Regions from separate parts of the Homo sapiens genome. Here region 1 is linked to region 2. The links are contacts of gene promoters, found by promoter capture Hi-C in human tissues and cell types (Jung and others, 2019). All regions are on one chromosome and are shown on one strand. Each heading gives the region's core, a stretch centred on a gene start or on the middle of the fragment in contact. The rest is flanking DNA. Distances are from core to core; before and after follow the strand shown.

What was found. Contacts are between HindIII fragments. The study calls those that stand out against the background at their distance.
Region 1: the fragment with the promoter of TRMT112 here is called in contact with the fragment with the promoter of RPS6KA4 in region 2 in 5 of the 25 tissues and cell types used here (bladder, dorsolateral prefrontal cortex, pancreas and 2 more).

Annotation. Positions count from the first base shown.
Region 1 is chr11:64,316,183-64,318,882 of GRCh38, forward strand. TRMT112 (tRNA methyltransferase activator subunit 11-2) reads right to left here and starts at 1,377. Exons shown (of 4, transcript NM_016404.3): 1 at 1,267-1,377; 2 at 1,082-1,183; 3 at 876-965; 4 at 278-786. The coding sequence starts at 1,344. The coding sequence ends at 679. ESRRA (estrogen related receptor alpha) reads left to right here. Exons shown (of 7, transcript NM_004451.5): 7 at 1-561. It overlaps PRDX5 (peroxiredoxin 5), which reads left to right and starts at 1,939. Exons shown (of 6, transcript NM_012094.5): 1 at 1,939-2,204. The coding sequence starts at 2,034. RefSeq lists enhancers at 1-396, 1,554-1,753 and a silencer at 1,844-2,003. The HindIII fragment of the contact is 15,117 bases long and covers 1-2,700 here.
Region 2 is chr11:64,357,755-64,360,454 of GRCh38, forward strand. RPS6KA4 (ribosomal protein S6 kinase A4) reads left to right here and starts at 1,408. Exons shown (of 17, transcript NM_003942.3): 1 at 1,408-1,536; 2 at 1,624-1,695; 3 at 2,409-2,627. The coding sequence starts at 1,482. RefSeq lists a silencer at 1,194-1,683 and enhancers at 1,433-1,960, 2,694-2,700. The HindIII fragment of the contact is 21,233 bases long and covers 1-2,700 here.

The DNA.
Region 1 (2,700 bases), core at 127-2,626, 42 kb before region 2:
CTGCCCCTTGCAAGCCATAACGTGCCCCCAGAGTGTAGGGGGCCTTGCGGAAGCCATAGGGGGCTGCACGGGATGCGTGGGAGGCAGAAACCTATCTCAGGGAGGGAAGGGGATGGAGGCCAGAGTCTCCCAGTGGGTGATGCTTTTGCTGCTGCTTAATCCTACCCCCTCTTCAAAGCAGAGTGGGACTTGGAGAGCAAAGGCCCATGCCCCCTTCGCTCCTCCTCTCATCATTTGCATTGGGCATTAGTGTCCCCCCTTGAAGCAATAACTCCAAGCAGACTCCAGCCCCTGGACCCCTGGGGTGGCCAGGGCTTCCCCATCAGCTCCCAACGAGCCTCCTCAGGGGGTAGGAGAGCACTGCCTCTATGCCCTGCAGAGCAATAACACTATATTTATTTTTGGGTTTGGCCAGGGAGGCGCAGGGACATGGGGCAAGCCAGGGCCCAGAGCCCTTGGCTGTACAGAGACTCTATTTTAATGTATATTTGCTGCAAAGAGAAACCGCTTTTGGTTTTAAACCTTTAATGAGAAAAAAATATATAATACCGAGCTCAAAAACACTGTGTTTGGTGTCATTGGGTCAAGGGTTGGGGATACACACGGCAGAATTCGGAAACAGGGTATAGATCAACAAAAATACACAGTCATAACAAGAAAAACTGGCGCCTGGCACAATCAACTCTCAGTTTCCTCTTCACTCAGCAGCATGTTGGGGATCCCGCGGCTGATGGGGAACATACGTCCAGATTCCGGGCACTGCAGGGTGCCCTCTATCACTTCCACCTGCGGGCAGGGAGGGACAGAGCTGAGCACTGGCAGCCTCAGTGCGGGAGGCAGGTGGCCCGGGAAGCAAGTGATGGGCCGCTTCTCACCTCCAGCAGCAGGTGGTGCATGGTCCTCAGAAACTCCTCATTCTCCTCATATCCCTCAACCGGCCCTTTCGGCACCTGGATCAGACGCAACTGTGGGCAAGAGGCCAAAATTATCTCCGGGCATCCCGAACTCCCGCCTCAGCCCGGCTGAGGTGTGCCCGCCCCGCATTCCCCGGGATATGCTGGGGCGGGGTAAGGATCCTCACGTTATCGGCCGCCTCCAGGAACGCCGACCACTCCACTTTAGGTATCATACGCGCCACGAAGTTGGGGTTGAATTCCACAGGGCAGATACGGACCTCGGTGGCCTGCAGGGCGGAGGAGTTTAGGCAAGCACTGGACCCCGGCCCACCATCCCGCCCGAAAAGGGAAGACTGCCGCCGGCGGGTACCTGGAGGCGCAGGGGGAAGCCACGGGACCCCACCCCCCGCACATGCGAGCTCAGCAGATTGTGGGTAAGCAGTTTCATGTCGCCGCACAAACTCTCGCCAGGCCGGAACCGGAAAAAGGTCGTCCTCCGCTGCCTCACTTCCGGGGATGCTCCTCTCGATGCTATTGGATAGCCAGGAGAACCGGAAGTGGCGAACTTGCTGGAACTTCTCGTGTTTGTGGGAGCTGAGGTAGGTAGGTGAAAGACCTGTCGGGTCACGCGCCGCTACCGGAAGCGTCTCAGCAGGAGGTTCCTACGGCGCACGCCCAGCTTTTTTTTGCCACAAATTCTTCGTAAGATGCAAATCATATGCAAAATAGCTGCAATGCAGGAGCTCTCGTTGAATGCAAAATAAACACATTTTACTCCTACACAGGCGCCTAACACCGTCGTCCTCTGTATCCCACTTTCGGTTAAGGGGCAGAAATACCGCCCTATCTGTAAATTAGGCCCATGGAAGCCGAGCCGCACCTCATTCCTATATGCAAATTAGCTGCTCCAGTGCCGAAAGCTCCGCCCCATTTGTAGTTGCGTCGGCTGTCCAGCACCCAGTGCAAACGAGGCGTGGGTCCCGGAAGCTCTGTTCTGCGGGTGGCCGCTCGCGCCTGCGCAGTGGAGGCGGCCCAGGCCCGCCTTCCGCAGGGTGTCGCCGCTGTGCCGCTAGCGGTGCCCCGCCTGCTGCGGTGGCACCAGCCAGGAGGCGGAGTGGAAGTGGCCGTGGGGCGGGTATGGGACTAGCTGGCGTGTGCGCCCTGAGACGCTCAGCGGGCTATATACTCGTCGGTGGGGCCGGCGGTCAGTCTGCGGCAGCGGCAGCAAGACGGTACAGTGAAGGAGAGTGGGCGTCTGGCGGGGTCCGCAGTTTCAGCAGAGCCGCTGCAGCCATGGCCCCAATCAAGGTGACCGCTGGCCCGGCCGGGCCTGACATCCCCCACTACCCCCATGGCAATCCCCGTCCCGCTAGTCTGAGAGTATCGCTTTATTTCCTGCCTGCCAGACCCCTCCCCTCCGCCCGCCCGGCTCATCCCTTCAGAAGGCCCTCGTGGCTGCCCACCTTTCTCGCCAATCGTGGGGGCCTCACCTCCCGGGACAGTCCCGAGGCATTGTGTTTTTTGTTTTTTGTTTTTTTTTGAGACGGAGTCTTTCTGTGTCGCCCAGGCTGGAGTGCAGTGACGCAATCTCTGCTCACTGCAGCCTCCGCCTCCCGGGTTCAAGCGATTCTACTGCCTCAGCCTCCTGAGTAGCTGGGACTACAGATGCGAGCCACCACGCCCAGCTATTGTATTTTTAGTAGAGACGGGATTTCACCCCGTTGTTCAGATTGGTCTCGAACTCCTGACCTCAGGTGAACCCCCCCCGCCCCCCCCCGCCTCGGCTTCCCGAAGTGCTAGGATT
Region 2 (2,700 bases), core at 158-2,657:
GTCTAAGATCTGGGCTCAGGGGTGTGGGGCAGTGAAGCCCCTGTTGCCCCGCCCCCACCCTCTCCCAGGGCACTGTCTTCTCTCTGTTCACATCCTCCTCCTACTCATCTCCCCTCCCTCCTTGAGGTTGAGCCCCCTCCCCAGGGAGTTCTCAGCCTGGCGGGGCATCACTTAATGCCAGGGGTTGCCAGGAGAGGTGGGAGGGACGCTGGCTCTCTGACCAGGGCCTCTAGCCTGATGCCTGAGAGGCGGGGCAATTCGGCTGGGGTGCAGGATGTGAGTCAGGGTACCTGGGGCCACCCAGGGGAGGGTGGAGCTGCCCAGGGCTGAGATAAGGCAGCCTGAACTTGGGGGGTGCAGAGCTGGGAGGGACGGTCCGTCCGGCCTCCCAGGTGTGACCTGCAGCAGCTTGAGTTCCTCCTCCTCTCAGCCAGGGCTTCACAGGACAGGGGCGTGGGGTGGACACCCTGGCCTCTCCAGCTGGCAGAGGAGCTGAGAGCCCCTCCCACCGGCCTCAGGGTGTGGGGCCTCATGGCTGTCCCACTCTGCTAGGTGGCCCCATTGGTGGTCAGGAAGGGAAAGGCAGGAAGAAGACGGAGCAGGGGCTCAGGAGGACCAGTCAGCAGGGGCCCTGGGCCTCATGGGGAGAGGGGGCAGCCCCGTGTGGCACTGACATCTCTTCTTGAGGCCTGCTCAGGGCTCTAAGCTGGGTACTGCACCAGGCTAGGAGACAACAGGAGCAGAACACGTGAGGTGCGCATGGCACCTGGTGGGCTCTGCACGGTGACTGGGGGCTGAAGTGCTTCTGCAGGCACCCCCGACAGAAAGCTGGTCAGAAAACTGGCCACTCCTCTCCTTGCCATGGGGTCCCAGGCCGGGCTCCAGCCCCCTCTTGGTGATGAGGCTCCTCCTTGCAAAGGCCAGTCCTCTGGGGAGAGGGGCCCTGCTGGCCACCCCCAGGACGATGGAGTGGGGTGGGCTCCACTGCCTGAGAGTTGGGTGACTTCCAGGATCCAGACCCCCTCTCAGCCTGCCCAGCACCAGGCACCTCGTCCCCCACCTTGGGGCACAGACTCCTAATGTCCTCCAGCCACTGGCTGCAGCCGGCATTCCCGGGCAGATTCCTGGCTTGGGGACTAATGCCCCAGAGGCTCCAGGTTACCCACGGGCTCAGGGATGGCTCCCACGGGGTGTTTCCAGTTCCCGGGAGAGTCGAGTAAGGTCCCGGAGCGCACGGCCCTGAGGCCTGGCCTGGGGGCTCGGGAGACAGGGCGGCCCCAGCCGGCCGCCCACCGGCAGCCCGGCGCTGTCACGTTCCAGCCGCCTGACTCAGGCCGCGCAGGGCGGGGAGCCGGGAGGCGGTGCCGGCGCCCGCCTCGGCCCCGGAGGCGGCACCAGGAAGCGCCCGCCCCGGCCGGAGCCGCCATGTAACCGGCGCCGCCCGGAGCCCGAGCCGCGCGGGCCCCAGCGACCCGCCCGCCATGGGGGACGAGGACGACGATGAGAGCTGCGCCGTGGAGCTGCGGATCACAGAAGGTGGGTGTGGGGCCTGACTGCGGCTGCCCGGGGCAGGCCGGGACGGGTCATGGACCGGCTGGGCTCATTCGCCCCCTGTGCCCACAGCCAACCTGACCGGGCACGAGGAGAAGGTGAGCGTGGAGAACTTCGAGCTGCTCAAGGTGCTGGGCACGGGAGGTGAGGACCCCCATCCACCGGGCAGGCGTCCCAGGCGCGGTGCCCCTGACCTCCTGCCTGCTCACTCTTGGGCCTGGGCCAGGCCACTGAGCAGGCCCCCCACCCTTTCCCGGCACAGCCTGCCTTGCCTGCCCCGCCCTGCCTCGCCAGAGTTTGCATGCCCACTTCCAGGGCACTCCACATTGACATCACTCCTCCCTCCACGGTCCTGTGCGTGCATACCCCCCTGGATTTGCCAACACCCTGGGGAGGGGGACTGGCGCCCCTCTCAAGTGATTTGCATAGCTCCTCCCTTTCTTCCAATATGGGATCCCCCTCCCACATTTTGCAAATGCCCCAGCGCTGGTTTGCGCATCCCTTCCCCAGCCAGGTGCACACCTCTGCCTCCCTTCCTTGCACTGGCATCTTTTCACATCCATCTGATCTCTCGCAGGTTTGCATATGCCCCGCCCCCATGCCTCGCAGCAGGCCCCCTGGAGATGCATGCTCCCCAGCCTGGTTTGCACATCCTTTCCCTGGTTTTGCTGGGCACCCTCCCGGGGTGTGCACACCCTTTCCTTAGAAGGCTCTGCCAGCTTTTTGCACACCTGCCTGTTGCCCCAGCTCCTTCGCCTCATTTGCACACCCTCCTGGGTTGGCATCGCCCCCACCCCCCAAGCCTGCACCAATCTCCCGCTCACAGCCCACCCTCCACCCACTCGCTGCTCCCACAGCCTACGGCAAGGTGTTCCTGGTGCGGAAGGCGGGCGGGCACGACGCGGGGAAGCTGTACGCCATGAAGGTGCTGCGCAAGGCGGCGCTGGTGCAGCGCGCCAAGACGCAAGAGCACACGCGCACCGAGCGCTCGGTGCTGGAGCTGGTGCGCCAGGCGCCCTTCCTGGTCACGCTGCACTACGCTTTCCAGACGGATGCCAAGCTGCACCTCATCCTGGGTGAGCGCACACCACATCCCAACGGGGTTGGGGTGGCTGGGGGCAGGCGAGGCCACCTGACGGGGCTGCTTCC